Regions from separate parts of the Homo sapiens genome. Here regions 1, 2 and 3 are each linked to region 4. The links are contacts of gene promoters, found by promoter capture Hi-C in blood cells and fetal thymus (Javierre and others, 2016). All regions are on one chromosome and are shown on one strand. Each heading gives the region's core, a stretch centred on a gene start or on the middle of the fragment in contact. The rest is flanking DNA. Distances are from core to core; before and after follow the strand shown.

What was found. Contacts are between HindIII fragments. The CHiCAGO score rates a contact against its expected background, and 5 or more counts as called.
Region 1: a contact is called between a fragment that was not itself captured here and the fragment with the promoter of MOGAT1 in region 4, in 1 of 17 cell types (monocytes). The highest score is 5.1, in monocytes.
Region 2: a contact is called between a fragment that was not itself captured here and the fragment with the promoter of MOGAT1 in region 4, in 4 of 17 cell types (fetal thymus, M0 macrophages, neutrophils and 1 more). The highest score is 6.6, in fetal thymus.
Region 3: a contact is called between a fragment that was not itself captured here and the fragment with the promoter of MOGAT1 in region 4, in 6 of 17 cell types (M0 macrophages, neutrophils, M1 macrophages and 3 more). The highest score is 8.8, in M0 macrophages.

What each region holds. Positions count from the first base shown.
Region 1 is chr2:222,966,467-222,970,726 of GRCh38, reverse strand. No RefSeq gene overlaps it. Among named protein-coding and RNA genes, the nearest start is that of ACSL3-AS1, 49 kb to the right of the region's middle. The HindIII fragment of the contact is 5,483 bases long and covers 1-4,260 here.
Region 2 is chr2:222,928,517-222,932,796 of GRCh38, reverse strand. It overlaps ACSL3 (acyl-CoA synthetase long chain family member 3), which reads right to left. Exons shown (of 17, transcript NM_004457.5): 13 at 3,861-3,935; 14 at 1,985-2,176. Among named protein-coding and RNA genes, the nearest start is that of ACSL3-AS1, 11 kb to the right of the region's middle. The HindIII fragment of the contact is 6,550 bases long and covers 1-4,280 here.
Region 3 is chr2:222,947,004-222,951,454 of GRCh38, reverse strand. No RefSeq gene overlaps it. Among named protein-coding and RNA genes, the nearest start is that of ACSL3-AS1, 30 kb to the right of the region's middle. The HindIII fragment of the contact is 1,135 bases long and covers 2,098-3,232 here.
Region 4 is chr2:222,669,997-222,674,222 of GRCh38, reverse strand. MOGAT1 (monoacylglycerol O-acyltransferase 1) reads right to left here and starts at 2,565. Exons shown (of 6, transcript NM_058165.3): 1 at 2,344-2,565. The coding sequence starts at 2,437. It overlaps LOC124907985 (a long non-coding RNA gene), which reads right to left. Exons shown (of 2, transcript XR_007088095.1): 2 at 3,221-3,587. The HindIII fragment of the contact is 3,409 bases long and covers 1,379-4,226 here.

The sequences.
Region 1 (4,260 bases), core at 1,191-3,690, 300 kb before region 4:
TTATTTCCTCCCCATTCTGGATTATAATCTAGTTGTGCCTTTTTGAAAAGCCAGTCTCATCAACAGAAAGCTATCTTGATTTGAATGGCTCATTAAATAGGATAGAACAGGGGAATTCCAGCTCTAAATGGAAGGCTGTTTACAAACCTAAATTTAATAATCCTCATTAGAGGCCAGCTATGCGATCCTGAGCTAGTAGTTTAACCTCTCTGAACCTCATTTTCCTGATCTGTAAAATGGTGTGCTGATGCTGTGAAAAACAGTTGGGTGTTTCCTCAAAAAGTTAAACATAAAACTACCATACGATCCAGTAATTTCACTTCTGAATATATACTTAAGAGTGAAAGCACAAACTCCAACAGATATTAGTACACTAATGTTCATAACATCATATTCACAATAACCCAGAGGTAGAAATAACCCAAATACCAATGGACAGATTAATGAATATACAAAATGTGGGATAAACATACAATGTTTTGTTTTGTTTTGTCTTGTTTTCGAGACAGGGTCTTGCTCTGTCACCCAGGTGGGACTGCAATGGTACAATCATGGCTCACTGCAGCATCAACTTCCCGGGCTCTAGTGATCCTCCTGCCTCAGCCTCCCGAATAACTGGGACCACAGGAACACACCACTATGCCTGGCTAATTTTCAAAACTTTTTTGTAGAGATGGGATCTCTCTATGTTGCCAGGCTGATCTCAAACTCTTGGGCTCAAGTGATCCTCCTGCCTCGGCCTCCCAGAGTACTGGGAATATAGGTATGAGCCACAGCACCCAGAAAATGTATTATTTTTAGGCCTTAAAAAGGAATGAAATTCTGATGTAAGCTACAACATGAATAAACCTTCAAAGTGTGTATGCTAAACGAAATAAGCCAAACACAAAAGGACAAATATTGCATTATTCCACTGAGGTACCTAGAATAGGCAAATTAATGGAGAAGAGAAGTAGAATAGAGGCTACTAGGAGCTGTGGGGAGGGAGGAATGGTGAGTTAGTGTTTAACGGGTGTGGAGTTTCAGTTTGGGGTGATGCCAAAGTTCTTGAAACGGATAGTGGCAATGATTGCATAACATTGAGAATGTATTTACTGCCACTAAATTGTACACTCAAAAAAAGGTTAAAATGGTAAACTTTATGTTATGTATATTTATCACTATGATAGAATAGATGATAAATAGATGATAGATAGATAGATAGATAGATAGATAGATAGAAAATGGTACTGGGTTACTATTCAAAGTCATGTCTTTCTTAGCCCTAAATATATATATATATATATATATATATATATATATATATATATATAACAATTTAAATATATATTACAATTTATATTTGTAGAAGGAATATATATATATATCCCTTCTATTATGTTGTCTAATTCTATGTTTATTGTATTGCGTATTTTGCTAAATTTTACTCTGTGCAAAACATGTGTTGAATAGGTGTGAATTAATTAATTATATAGTTTTATTGACTACGGCAGTACAAAAGGAAAAGATGTTACGATAAATTTTCTCAATACACAATACAAACTAAAAGGACTCTTCCAGTCCTCCTGAGCTGGTTCCATCCTGAACCAGGTATGTCTCCCAAGAGGCCCCAGCAGGGCAGGCTCTTCCTCTACAGTTTGATGAGAAAAGTCTCCATGATGTACTCTTCTCATATTTACAGTATGAAGAATGGCTTTTTTTCCCTCTAGTTTTAATTGAGATGGAACATTCCAAGGCCAAGAAAATGTCATGCATTCACTGGTGAGTAAGCTAGACATGACGGGAATGACAGTTACAGGACACAGCTATTTACCAAAAACGTGACCTATGGGACTTAAGAACCATGTCACGCTGCTCTGCCTGATGGTATCTATTTGGATGACCTGAAATCAGAAACTTGGTTTTCTTTTGAAGAGAAAAATGTCCAGAGTATACTGAGATATGCACGGGGGTAAGGGACACGTGCAAGTGTGCACATCCACGTGTTCACAGCCATGGGGAAGGGAGGAAAAATCACCCCTTAACTCAAAGAACTCTGGAAATTACAATAGGAAACAACCTACTTTCCCTATTGAACAGCAACAAAATGAGAAGCAAGCAATAAGGGATAATAAAATGCCCAAGTTATGTTTTTACATGCAAGTAAAGTGAGTCAAGAGGACTATAACTTTGAAGACAAGTTATGGAATATGAATCTCTCCACATAGGGTGCTTACTGTATTTTCTCATTTCTTTCAAATCCTGTAGAAGTGCATAGTCAAGACTGAAAATATAAAAGGCCATAAAAATGGAGATACAAATGGCTCTCCAGATGTTTGAGTCTGTTCTAAGAGAAATCACATTTGTGAGAGCAGACAAAAATGTGAAACAAAAAAAATGGTAGAGCTTAAATGTTAAAGCAAACTCAATTGATAGACATTAATTGAGCACCTACCAAATAAAAGATACTGGGCTAGCCTCCACAAAACAAAAAATAAGGCATTATTTCCTCCCCATTCTGGATTATAATCTAGTTGTGCCTTTTTGAAAAGCCAGTCCCATCAACAGAAAACTATCTTGATTTGAATGGCTCATTAAATAGGATAGAACAGGGGAATTCCAGCTCTAAATGGAAGGCTGTTTAACTCCATCTTCAGCTGGGTTCTCTTTAAAATGACAGCAAGACAATTTAAAAGGATTTAATGCACAACGATAAAGAAAGTAAAAGAAGGGCTGTCACTGAATAGAAATTCAACAAATGACTAGAAGATGGATGAAAACAGATGAAGTAGATCAGAGGAACCATGGCCTAGAGTCCTTATGGGAGGCGATACGCCCATCTACCTTGCCAGACTCTGATAGGTTTCAGCACTCAGAAACAGAATAATGAAGGCAGTGAAATGAAGGTGTGGACATGGGCTGCCCTGTCCCACTGCACTCTCTCAGCACACTAGAAACCAGACATCTCCCTGGCCTACCCCACCTTACTCCCCAGTCTAAGCATCAAAGGGTCCTCCTTGAAACAAATTGATAGCCCCACTGGAAACATCTCTGCATTCTGGCACTTAGGATGTCCTCAATCTCCCAGACGCAAATCCATCTACCTGACAGATCTTGTTCACATGCACGATTTTTCATTGCCTCGCACTTCGACTTAAATGAACGAGGATGAAGACTGTGCAGTTATTTCAGAATAGAGACAAGTTTTTTAAATGACTCCAACCAAAACAAAGATAAGTTAAGCTATAGAACACAAAATAAAATCCTCTAATTAGAAATTAGACCCATGAAACAAAAATAAGATGCTATATCAAGAGGAAAAATCAGATACCAAAAAAAAGAGCTATTGGAAATTTTTTAATGACTGCAAAAATAGGAAAATTCATTACAAGGTTGGAGAATAAAATCCAGATGACTTCCCAAAAAACAGATCTCAAAATAAGAGATAAAAAAGGTAATAGAAAAAAATAGGAGACCTAGAAGACCAATCTGTGGATCCAGTGTCTGACTAATAGAACTAATACAAAAAAAGAGAAACCAGAAGAGACAGAGAGAGAGGAAGAAATTATCAAAGACATAACAGAAGACAGTAAGAATTGAGAGGTGGGACTGATCACTGAGGATTCAGGTAGTCAGAAAAGTCGGCACAGAGGAGGGAAGTTTTCAGCCCAGCCTTGAAGGATGTTCAGGATTCTGACCAGTGGGAAGAAAGAGAGGTCTCAAGATACAAAGCCCAGCAAGCAAAGAATTCAGACCAGAAAGAGCCTGAGTTATGCCTACAGAAGCTGCCTAGATTCAGATTCAACCACCATTTCTCTAGCATTGGCATCTTCAGACATTGTTCCGAGCCCCTTTAATGCTGCACCCAGTGGAATCCTCACAACCATCTCACAGCTCTCATGTATAGCTCAGGACACTCAGCCTAGGAGAGAGAGGCAATGCATTCATGTCACACAGTGGTTGATTCTAGAGTAGAATTCACACCTATGATGACCCCAGGCTCTAAGTCCCTCACTCATAAATCTCATCAGGGATGAGAGTTCTCACAATTAAAAAGAGGGCTCTATGACTAGAAAGGTAAGTTGAGGGTAGATTTTCAGGGGCCTAAAATATTAAGTAAAGGAGTTCTTTTTTTTCATATGACACAGTCTTGTTTTGTTATTCATACTGGAGTACAGTGGCAAGATTATGGCTCACTGCAGCCTCAACCTCTGAGGCTCAGGCAATCCTTCCACCTTAGCCTCCCATGTAGCTGGGACTGCAGGCATGTGCCACCATGCC
Region 2 (4,280 bases), core at 1,234-3,733, 260 kb before region 4:
ACCGCGCCCGGCTAATTTTTTGTATTTTTAGTAGAGACGGGGTTTCACCTTGTTAGCCAGGATGGTCTCGATCTCCTGACCTCATGATCCACCCGCCTCGGCCTCCCAAAGTGCTGGGATTACAGGCGTGAGCCACCGCGCCCGGCCCATGCTTTTAAAAGAAAAACAGGCCAGGTCCAGTGGCTCATGTCTGTAATCCCAGCACTTCGGGAGGCCGAGGCGGGCACATCACTTGAGGTCAGGAGTTCGAGACCAGCCTGGCCAACATGGTGAAACCCCGACTCTACTAAAAATACGAAAACTAGCTGGGCGTGGTGGTGCACACCTGTAATCCCAGCTACTCAGGAGGCTGAGGCAGGAGAATTGCGTGAACCCAGGAGACAGAGGTTGCAGTGAGCTGAGATGGTGCCACTGCACTCCAGCCTGGGCGACAGAGCAAGACTACATCTCAAAAAAAGAAAGAAAGAAAAACAATTAACTTCTACTTAATGGACTCCATTAGCAGGGCTTCAAGTATGTTCTTCTGAACAGGTTTATTTCTGGTATCCATTAGTACCAGGCAGGTGAAGAAGATATTCAATGCCATCTGCAAGTTCACAACCTATCTGGAGACATGCATAATGCAAAAACGTATTACTTCAATACATTGGTACTACAATGGTAGCGCTAAGTGTTAAGACTCTCCAACCTGGGGATTTGGAAAAAATTCTTGCAAGTGAGGCCTGAGCTGAGGGTTGGATGGTTGGTTGGTTTTGAGATTTTGAGACAGGGTCTCACTCTGTTGCTCATACTGGAGTGCAGTGGCACAATCACGGCCTCCTGGGCTCCTGTGATACTCCCACCTCAGCCTCCCGAGTAGCTGGGATTACAGGCCTGAGTCACTATGCTCAGCTGCTTGAGCCGAGTCCTAAGGGAAAAGTGAGAGGTCAGGTGCAACAACACTGGCAAAAGCCAGAAGAACATCAGCTCTAATTTCAGCTGCATCAAGGAGGAGGAGGAAAACAACTGACGATGAAGGTGAAGAGGGGAACAATGTTAACAGGGGCACCCTGAACTGAGCTTCTAGGAGACATTAAATGGTTGTGGCCAGTAAGATCCATGTTTAGTAATTACATGGTGGCAGTGAGAGGGTGTGTTTAAGGGGGTAAACATGGCAACAGAGAAATTATTGGGAGAGGGTGGCAGAAGGTACAGGCCTGACCAATGATCAAGTAAGAGAGACAAAGAGAGAAGAGTATGATTTTGAGACATAGCTCATAAAATAAACTAGTGGGATATAAAATAGGCATGGGAAGCTGACTGAAGAGAACAGTCTTGAGTCTCCTCCCAGGTTTCTAGTTAGCAAGACAGGGATAGAAATGCCATTAACTTTTTTTTTTTTTTTAGACAGAGTCTTGCTCTGTTGCCCAGGTTGGAGTGCAGTGTCGCGATCTCCGCTTGCTGCAAGCTCTGCCTCCCGGGTTCATGCCATTCTCCTGCCTCGGCCTCCCAAGTAGCTGGGATTACAGGTGCCCGACAAAGACACCACACACGGCTAACTGAAATGCCATTAACTTTTAAAAAAAAAGAACCTAAAAGGAGAAGCAGAATAAGGTATTTTTCAACCCATATGAGTCATAGTACTTGAGCTGCCTGGCTTTCCTCTATTCTCCTGGGCAGGGCAAGGCAAGGGTGCAGTTCAGACTGTGAGAGCTCCATCCACTAATCTCTAGATGTCAGAAACACAGGCAGGAAACAATGACTGAAGGTTATCTAAGAGTAATTTAAAATACCACTGCTGCTGAACCATCTTTGAGAACTCATAACATGTCAGGCCTCATAAATTCCACAGTCCGTAATATTTTATATTCCAGGAGTGATGCAACAACCCAAACTAAGATTACATAAAGATTTATATTATTCAGCGCCTCCTCTAAATATATTGTGCTTCTTGTGTAAACTATTTCAGAAACATTCATTTTCAAAAAAATATTAGATGACTTACCAATAATCTTTAAGCATCCATCGGGTTCAAACTCTCCAATATCCCCAGTACAGAGCCACCTTTGTCCATTTTCATCTTCAAAGAAATCAGCTTTTGTTTTTGCTTCATTTTTGTAGTACCCCATTGTCACACTTTGGCCCCCAATAAGAATTTCACCCCTGGGGTGTGGCTTATCAGTATTAAAGTATCCACCTAATAAAATAATAATTGAGTTAATAGTTGAGTTAAATACAACACATGAAAATTTGAAACTACTAGTTTCTAAACAGTCATCTTATTTTAATCCAATTAGAACTTCCCAAAGGAAAAAAGGCAGACACTATGAATGAACAAAGTTTATCAATTTAACAGTAGGCACAAAATCTCAGTTGCTAAACCATAAGTATTTATGTTTTCAAACTTCTATTCTGAGAAAAAAATTAAACTCTAAAACCCAACATCTTCCATTTGTTGTATAAAATTATAAATACAAGAGACAAATTATTTGAAAGATTCTGCAACATCTTAAATATCATATTGATAAACTGACAGAAGTATTAAGTCATGCAATTAATAGAACAAATCCCTATATAAGAATGAGTTACTGCTGGGCCAGTGGCTCATGTCTGTAATCACAACACTTTGGGAGGCCAAGGAGGGTGGATCGCCTGAGGTCAGGAGTTTGAGGTCAGCCTGGCCAACATGGTGAAACCCCACCTCTACTAAAAATACAAAAAATTAGTCGGGCATGGTGGCGCACACCTGAAATCCCAGCTATTAGGGAGGCTGAGGCAGGAGAATCACTTGAACCCAGGAGGTGGAGGTTGCAGTGAGCCGAAACCATTGACACTGCACTCCAGCCTGGGCAACAAGAGCAAAACTCCGTGTCAAAAAAAAAAAAAAAAAAAAAGTGAGTTACTACATATTAAGATTTATTCTTATAGATAATTTCAAAATGACTCCAAGCCTAAATTTATTAAATATTCCCACTAATTCTGCTAAAGATAGCTAAAAGACATCCAAGCCTTAGAATCTTTCTTTATTTATTTATTTTGGAGATGAGAGTTTCGCTCTGTCACCCAGGCTAGAGTGCAGTGGCGCAATCTTGGCTCACTGCAACCTCCACCTCCCGGGTTCAAGTGATTCTCCTGCCTCAGCCTCCCGAGTAGCTGGAATTACAGGCACGCACCACCACGCCTGGCTAATTTTTGTATTTTTAGTAGAGACGGTTTCACCATGTTGGTCAGGCTGGTCTCGAACTCCTGACCCCATGATCCGCCCGTCTTGGCCTCCCAAAGTGCTGGGATTACAGGAGTGAGCCACTGCGCCCGGCCAGAATCTTTATCTTTACTTAATGTAGAGGAAAGGTGCATCCCAATAAAACACAGATAATTTGTATATTTTAACAGGATCAAATAAATTTTTAAGTGACCATTATTTTAAATGGCATGAGAATAAACAGACTTCTATGGAATTGCAGTGAAAATTTCCTTCTAATAATACAAGGTTGAAGCCCTCAGAAAAAAAAAGAAAAAAATCATTTAAAAATCCACAATTTCATAAAATAAATTTTATAATTTTACTTCTGCAAAATAAAGTTATGATCACTCCTAATTTATTGACATTATTCACTTATTAGTACATTTCTCAAGTTTTTGCCATAATTCTTACTTGCATCTACGTAATAAGTAAAATGAAAACAATAATAGTTCTTCAGAAACATCTTTGAAACAAGAAAAATAAATGCATTCATATAGTTCGAGATAAAACACGTCTATCACAAAGGACAAAAATGAGCACTTATGGGTGTTTACATTCTAAAGCAAGAAAGTGAAGCACTAATTTTCAAGTTTAATACTTTAAAAATTAATGCTCTGTGGTTAAAATAGTTTATTACCTTCCTCCCAGTTTTTTAATTTGATTTCACAGCAAACTAATGGTGCTCCCACTCTGCCAGTATTGTAGTCCCACACTAGGAATTAAATGAAAAAAAGGATATTTGAGAACAGTAGCTAATACACTGCTTCATTTTTCTAAATTACCAAAAATGATTATTTATCCTAAGGCTGAGGTATCCCCAGCTATTCCTTAAAAGCAGAAGTCACATATTGGTGAAGCACAGGCCGTGAGGCCTGTAGAGTCGTATTTTTTGGCCTACATTGAGGTTTTTTTTTTTTTTTTAAATTAGTTATTGTCATTCTTAAAAAATCAGGAAATTTTAGATGTAAGTGTGGAATCGCCAGCAACAATGGGCCCACATTTCAGGTACAGCAGAACTGACGGCCTCTGTTAGAGAGGGCATGCCTGCTCCTGTTCC
Region 3 (4,451 bases), core at 1,416-3,915, 280 kb before region 4:
AAAACTGTCCTTTTTTCACATATCTGTAATCATATCTAATTGTCAGCCTCGACATCACAGACACACAGGTGACTGGTGATCATGGGTGTCTTGCTATGAGTCTGCGTTCTTCACCATCTCTACCTGTGAAAACAGTATTGCCAGGGTTTGGGGTGGGAGAAAAATAAGAAAATTTTGTTTTCTACTGCACCAGATTCCCATCACTGTGTATAAGCAAGGCTCTGTGTCCGTGCCACTTTGGGGAGATGGAAGATACAGAGCTGGTGAACATCAGCTGCATGGTGAACAGCCCATAGGCTGGTGATTCAAAGAAGAGGAATGGGCGGCAGACGGTCACAGACAGCAACATCCATCACCCACGCAGCCCTGCTGCTTCCTGTAAATGCCGCAGAGGAGAGAAGATGAGATATACAAACACAAATCTGCCTTCGGATTTTACATCAAATTCCTGCCCATTTTTATTTTACTCATTATTAGCATATTCCCGGAAGGTAGAACAAAACAATTTCTCAAATGACTCAGAAGGCATATGAAATTATTGTTTATTAGCAGGGAGGGAAAGGAGGAAGGAAGGAGGTGGAAAAAAGAGACCCATGACAAAAAAAAACCTAACACAGGGCCGGGTGCGGTGGCTCACGCCTGTAATCCAAGCACTTTAGGAGGTGGAGGCGGGAAGATCACTTGAGGCCAGGAGTTTGAAACCAGCCTGGGCAGCATAGTGAGTCCCTTTCTCTACAAATAATTAAATTAATTAATTAGTTAATTAATAAATAAGCCAGATGTGGCAGTTCGCTCCTGTAGTCGCAGCTACTTGGGACACTGAGGCAGGAGGATTGCTTGAGCCATGATCACACCACTGCATTCCAGCCTGGGTGACAAAGCAAGACCTTATTTCAAAAAGCAAAAAAAGGGAGAAAAGAAAACTAACACAGTGTCTACAAAGGCTCAGAGGGACGGGACCTGCCTGGGTCACACTACACACCATGTTTCCCCTTCTTTCCCACATTTTAGCTAATTGATGATAAAAGGCTAATTAATGAAAATGATAGTATACCCAACATTCACTCAGAATCTCTTAGAAGAAAGTCATATGACACTAGACTTGGAGGATACAAAGAATCACTAAAACACCCATTCCTCAGGAATTTAAATTTATCTGAGAAGTCAGGAGATATATATGTACATACACACACACACACACACACACTCAAAACCAAATAACAATTGGATAGTTTACAAAACTGCTAAGGTTTGATCTACCTAGCCATTCCTGTTAGAAAGCTGTCCTGTAGATGAGCTTCCTCTTAAGCACAAAAATGGGAGTAAAAGCTTTGTGTTGTCACACTGATTCTAATGGTAAAAACTGAAATAACCTAAGTGCCTAACAATGAGAGAATGGTTTACATTGTGATACACCCATTCTGTGGAATATTGCCTCGCCGTTAACAAGGTTATTTATGAATCAGGTCCATTATATATGTACTGACACAGGAAGATGTCCAATGTATGCTCACAATAAAAAAGGCAAGTTATAGAATCTAGACCAGGATCTAACTGCGGTCTGTATTAGTGTGCTAGGGCTGCCATAACAAAATCACAGACTAGGTGGTTTGAGCAACAGAAATTCACTTTCTCACAATTCTGTTGGCTAGAAGGACAAGATCAAGGTGTCAGCAGGGCTGGTATCTTTTGAGACCTCTCTTTTTGGGTTGGCATCCCACACTCTTCACTCTGTGGAGATCTGTGTCCTGATCTCCTTGTGCAAGGACTCTAGTCATATTGGATTAGGGGCCACATTAATGACCTCATATTAACTTAATCACCTTATTCAAGGCCCTATCTCCAAATTTACTGACATTCTGAGGTACTAGAGATCAGGACTTCAACATATACATTTGGGAGGAGAGACAAAATTTAATTCATTATATGTTTTCTAAAAACCCTGTGTATATAGGGAGGATTTCCATTTTTAGTCTATATCTCCAAATTACTAGAAATTTTATAATGAGCATAAATTCATGTTATGCTAAATAAGCAAATCTTTCAAAAACTAATATGGTATTTTTACACCTGTTTGTCTAACATTCCAAATAAGCTTAAAAAAAAATCACAATAGCAGGGAGACTCAAGCCTGGTCTGTAAAGGACGTCTGGTGCAATCATCCACAGGTCTCAGCACTGGCCCTGATGAGGGATCACAGGTCAACACTGACACCAGACCCAGAGCTAGAATCAGCCAATAAAACAACCAAAAGGCAAAGAAGAACTGGGCAACTTTCAGGGAAAAGATAGAAGAAAAGCATCTTTCTGAATTTCCCTTTTCTTATAGGAGCTGTTTTTAAAAATTAGCAAATCATCTCCTCTTTTTAAAATGGATGATCTACAGAAAAATATACAATATGATATTGTATTAGTCCATTTTCACGCTGCTGATAAAGACATACTGGAGACTGGGTAATTTACAAAGAAAAGTAAGTTTCATGGACTCTCAGTTCCACATGGCTAGGGAGGCCTCACAATCATGGTGGAAGGCAAAAGGCACATCTTATATGGTGGGAGGCAAGAGAGAATGAGAGCCAAGTGAAAGGGGAAACCCCTTATAAATCATCAGATCTCGTGAGACTTATTCACTATCACGATAACAGTATGGGGGAACTGCCCCCATGATTCAATGATCTCCCACCAGGTCCCTCCCGCAACATGTGGGAATTGTAGGAGATACAATTCAAGATGAGATTTGGGTGGGGACACAACCAAACTATATCAGATATTGATACTAATAAAGTTTTACATTTAACAGGAGGAGGAGAAAGGGCATAGCAAATCTATTGGACACACAAGAAGAAAATCTTCTTGAAAAGAGCTATTTAGGGGCCAAGGTCCTACATAATTCAGTTACAGAAAAATTAAAATTGAGTCATGAAGCAGTAAATAAAAGGATTAAGAACATGAAAATAAAGATATGCAGAACATGGGCAGAATTACCAGAAAAAAAATGCACATACAGAAGACAGGCACAGATACCCATATATCACGTTATAAAGCTGGAACAAACAGAACAAGATTGATAAACAAGGGTATAGTTGAAGGGAGCTTTCAAAAAATATATAAATATGAATGGGATTAGAAAATAAAAGGGTTTCTAGTTTCTTCTTTACTAGAACACTTAAGATAGCTTCAAATATTTTTTCTTAACAATTGATAATTTTGCTAAGATAAAAAATTTTAAAGCTTATGGTCCATATTTTAAGCTAGGCTTCTTTACACAAGCTTGACTTTTTATTGTAGGAGTAAGTAAAGCCAATGTAAAGAATTTTGAAAGTATGAAGAGAAAAATGTCAATTACAATTTTTGGCCAATGATTGCACATTTCTTTCTAGACTTTTCTCTATGAAATATATACACAACACACACACACACACATTATGACATAAAGTGCCTACTAAATTTTGATTCCTACTTTCTTCCCCCATAAAATTCATAGTATGAAGTCCTCCTCACAATATAAAAAGCTGTATAAACATTTTTTGTGCCTCTATGATCAAGTGGATAGTGTCTAATATTTACCTGATATCTTACTTTAGTGCACTTGTTTCCAATTGATGGATTGCTATAAACAACTTCACAATGAAGGTCTTCCTGAAGAAATCTCAACCCGCGTCTCTTGAGTATTTTCTAAGGTCAGATTCCTAGATGTGGAATTAGTGGGCAAACCATAGGAACTTTTTTAAGCCTCTGGTGCATCTCACTTTCCTACATGAGGTGAACTGCTGATGTGCTGAACAGGGTAAAAACAGATTTGGGTGGCTATTTTTGACCATGGCTACCAAAAAGCCATCTTTTCTTACATTTGTGGAAACGTTTAAAAGAATTCTAAGGCCGGGAGCGGTGGCTCACGCCTGTAATCCCAGCACTTTGGGAGGCCAAGGCGGGTGGATCACCTGAGGTCCGGAGTTCGAGAACAGCCTAGCTAACATGGTGAAATCCCGTCTCTACTAAAAATATAACATTAGCTGGGTGTGGTGGCAGGTGCCTGTAATCCCAGCTACTCAGGAGGCTGAGGCAGGAGAATCACTTGAACCGGGAGATGGAGGTTGTAGTGAGCTGAGATCGTACCACTGTACTCCAGTCTCGGCCACAGAGTGAGACACTGTCTCAAAAAAAAAAAAAAGAAAACAGAAAAAAAATTCTCGGAGTTCTTGCCCCAATGCTCTCAAGACATCCAAAACATTCAAACCAAGAGAGGACTGGAGTGAGGATGGCGTTAGTGCTAAGGCTGAGCAGAGAGGTATTATACAGGGCAGGCAGAGCATCTAGCAGAATAAGGGACTGTGCCCTGGCCACTCATGGAGGTCCTCAGATGGGGTGACTCACAGCGGGGTTGGGAGCTTTGAGGACAGCACATTGCTGGGTTGTTAGAGCTGGATGTTTTATATGTGAGCACCTTCCCAC
Region 4 (4,226 bases), core at 1,316-3,815:
TGGATCTAGAACCACTGTAGTTTGATTCAAATTAGACACAGGTCATTGAGCATCTGCCATGTCCTCGTCACTAATCCACTCACATGCGGTCACATGTGTCTCGACTTTCCACTACTGGGCCATGTGATCTTGAGTAACTCACTTTATCTCCTAGTTCCTTCATTGGTAAAATGAGGGTAACGGGTAGTCCTCCCTCACCAGGTTGCTGTGAGGATTACATGAGTTAATACTCTAGGGATCTGGTGGGTGCATAATTCCTATTCTGGGTGATAGACCAGAAACAGCCATTCAACAAGTATTTGTGTATATCTCAAGTATTTGTGTATATCTCAAGTATTCGTGTATATCTTCCATGGGCCAGACATATACTGTGTGTTTCCTCACTAAGCTTGTAGACTAAGACAGCCATAGAGAACTTTCTGAAGTCACCACAGCCATACACAGATACAAGCAATGATAAGTGCCATGAAAGAAAAGAACAGTGGCTATCAGAGATGTGTTGAATGATCGGTTAGGAAGTCGGACTCCAAGTTCAGGCCATTTAAGAGAGCAGTTTAGTGGTTAAAGCAGACACTTTGGGCAGAATACTTGGGTTTGAAACCAGCTCTACCACGTCCTGCTAGCTGCATCGCCTTGAGCAATTTACTTCATCTCTTAGTTCCCTCATCTGTACCAGGAGTGTAGGAATAGTCCTTACCTCACAGGGATGTTGTGAAGATTGCTAGTTAATCGTGGATGTTGCTTAGAACAGCACCTGGCACATACCAAGCGCTAGATAAGGTCGTGTGTTGTTATCTCCATGGTGCTTTGATCCAGAGCAACCCTGCCTCACGGTGTAGTCTGTGAGGACTTAATGAGTTAACACTTTGAATTACATTTTTTTTTTTTTTTGGTAAATTCTACCTAGCAGCACAGGAGAGTCACTCGGAGAGTTCTTAAGAGGAAAAAGGAAAAAAAAAAAGGTGTACAGACTTCATTCTGAAACAAATGACTTAGAAATTCCAGGGATGAGCCGGGCGCGGTGGCTCACGCCTGTAATCCCAGCACTTTGGGAGGCTGAGACAGGCGGATCACCTGAGATTGGGAGTTCGAGACCACCCTGACCAACATGGAGAAACCCCGTCTCTACTAAAAAGACAAAATTAGCCAGATGTGGTGGCACATGCCTGTAACCCCAGCTACTCGGCAGGCTGAGGCAGAAGAATTACTTGAACCCGGGAGGCGGAGGTTGTGGTGAGCCGAGATGGCGCCACTGCACTCCAGCGTGGGCAACAAGAGTGAAACTCCGTCTCAAAGATAATAATAATAATAATAATAATAATAATAATAATAAACAAATTCCAGGATGGAGCCTGGGCATCTGCACTTTTTAGAAGCTTCTCCAGTGATTCTCATCTAGAGCCAGGGTTGAGAACCACTGATTCAGGCTTTCGAAATGTAAAAGCAGTTTTAAAAGTGTAAAACTCTCCAATGCAATGGGCTTATTACTATTATTACCACCCCAACGCTGTACAATCCATGATCTTACAGCATACACATGATCTTAGTCTTCAGAAGAGTTTATGTTTCAATAGAAGGGTCTCCCCCAAATTCCTCCCTCCTCCCACATCACCCCTATTTACTTCAAGAGCAGAACAAATATGAAGGAAAAAACAAAAAACAAAAAGAAAAACCACCCACGTTTTTGCCCCATCTAATGATTCGGCTCGTGTATGTTTCATGGGCTCAACTTGGGAACCAACTGGAACACACACGCTACTGAGTCAAACTATTTCCAGAGAGAAACCGCTCAACCAAATGCAATGAGTGGTGCAGCCTTCTTTACAGAAAGGTACTGCTATGCATCCAGGAAATCTCCAAAACGGGAAAGGGAACACTGCTCTTTGTCAGGAGGGTGGGGAGACAAAGAGGGAGAAGGAACAAGGTTTTAACTACTGAGGCATTACTTTGCCATCTATGAATCAACAGTTCGAGAAACGAGTTTGCCAACTTTTGAGGGGTTAAAGTGCTCATGCGTTCGATGGGGTCATGGTTACATTTTGGTAGATACAGTCGCCAAAAGTCATCGAGCTGTATCCGTATAACTGCGCCTTTTATTGTAGGCAAGGTGCACCTCAATTTAAAAAAGTAACGCAGGAGAAAATAAAATTAAACAGTCGTTAGCGATGAGGTTCTCGTGAGGAAACCAGAGTCCACGTTAGCTCCAAATGCCCTCTTTGACCTGCCTGCTCTGGCCGACAGGGGAACGAGGGTTGGAAGGTTCTATGCAGGTCCTGGAATCCGGACCGTCCCGAGGGAGGATATGGAGCCCAAGCCCCGCGGCCCGGGGGGCGGGGTCCTTACCGAGCAGCAGGTATTTCAGGACCCACTGCAGCACGGCCACCGTCTGCAGCCGCCGCGCCAGCTGGATGTTGAGCGGTGCAAACTCTACCTTCATGGCCTGGCCGGGCGAGGACGGCGCCAGCCACTGCAGCCTGCACCCACGCTGCTCTGCGGCGCCTGTGGGAAGTGCCCGGCCGGATCCGGGCCCCGCGCTGGGCACTGGCTGGGCGGAGAGGAAAAGGCAGAGGCTAGGCAGCGAGCGGGGACCCAACTGCGCCCTGGGTGGGAGGGCGCGCTGGGCTGAGGCTGGGGGCAGCCAATCACAAGCGCCGGGCGCCAGAGCTGGCCCAGCGCCCTGGCCCCGGAGCAGCTACAGCGGCCCGGGCGCATTGGCTGGCGCGCCGGGCGTTGGCGAGAGTGCGCCGCGTGGGACACGAGGGACGGGGAGAGGGGTCAACTGGCAGCCAGCCCGAGCCGGGCAGCGCGGGCTCCTGCCGCCTGGCTGAGGACCTGGGATCTCCACCAGGATCTGACCATTGTTCAGCTGATCGATCACCCAGCGCTTGCCTTCAGCATCCCACCCCTTCATTCGAACCCTCGGTGATTGGGGAAGGGTTAGTTTGAGGAATCGCACACCAGCTGGAGAGATGAGCGAGACTTGTTTCTTAGTTTATTGATCTGTGTCCCCCCGCAACCTCCAATTTCCCCGCGGATGGGGAAGGGGACCTGGCTTCCTCACTCTTGGGTCCTCAGTTCCCTACAGGAGCTCCGGGAATCTTTCACCCATTCATTCATTCAACCCACATTTATTGAGCACTTGCCACTTGCTGAGCACCATCCGGGCGCTTGGATAACCAAGCTGTCAAGCGCATCCGTGTGAAGAGACCACCAACAGGCATTGTGTGAGCAACAAGGCTGTTTATTCACTTAGGTGCAAGTCAGCTGAGTCCGAAAAAGAGTCAGCGAAGGGAGATGGGGAAGGGGTTGCTTTATAGGAGTTGTCTAGGTAATGGAAAATTACAGTAGAAGGTGGTTATCTATTGTTAGCAGAGGAAGGGGTCACAAGGTACAGGGTGGGGAGATCATAAGACTCATTGTCCAGAAGAAGAATGTCACAAAGTCGATTGATCGGCTAAGGTAGGGCAGGGACAAGTCACAATGGTAAAATGTTGTAATGTTGGTTAATCAGTTAAGGCAGGAACTGGCTGTTTTACTTCTTTGCGTTTTTTTTGGCTGCTCCAGGCTTCTTGGCTCCTGCAGGCCACCTGGATGTGTACATGCAGGTCACAGAGGTTATAATGGCTGAGCTTTGGCTCAGAGGCCTGACACAAGCTATTCATTGTCTTGTTCTCAGAGTACAGGGGGAAACAGACATAAGCAAAACAACTACACAATTTGGTGTATAATTACAAGTAAGACCCTACTGTGAATGACTAGAAGATTCCAAAACCAAGACTGCTGCACGGTCAGGGAAGTGTCTGAAGAAGTGCCCTTACTTGAGCTGTAGCCAAATCTAGTTAACCCAGGAGTCATCCGGGCAAAGGGAAGCACATATGCAAAGGTCCTGTGGCTGAACTCCAAGAAGAGCTCAAAGAGTGAGAGCTTGGGGGACAAGGGTGAGATTGGGGTGACATCAGGCAAAAATGGTGGGCAAGGTCCAGACCCTTGCAGACTGAGTTAGGGTTCAAGTTTGAACCCCAAGAGCAGTACAAGACACTGAAGGGTTTCAATTACGATGTGCTAAATGGATGGCTAGATTCTAAATAGTGCCTAGTCCTTGGGAGCAACCACTGCACTTTATTTATAAATATTAATTACCACATAGTTGAAAAACTCAAAATGATGAGCAGCTGTCAAGTCATTGCTGAAGAGGACTTGGAACAGGGCAAAACAATATAGTTGGC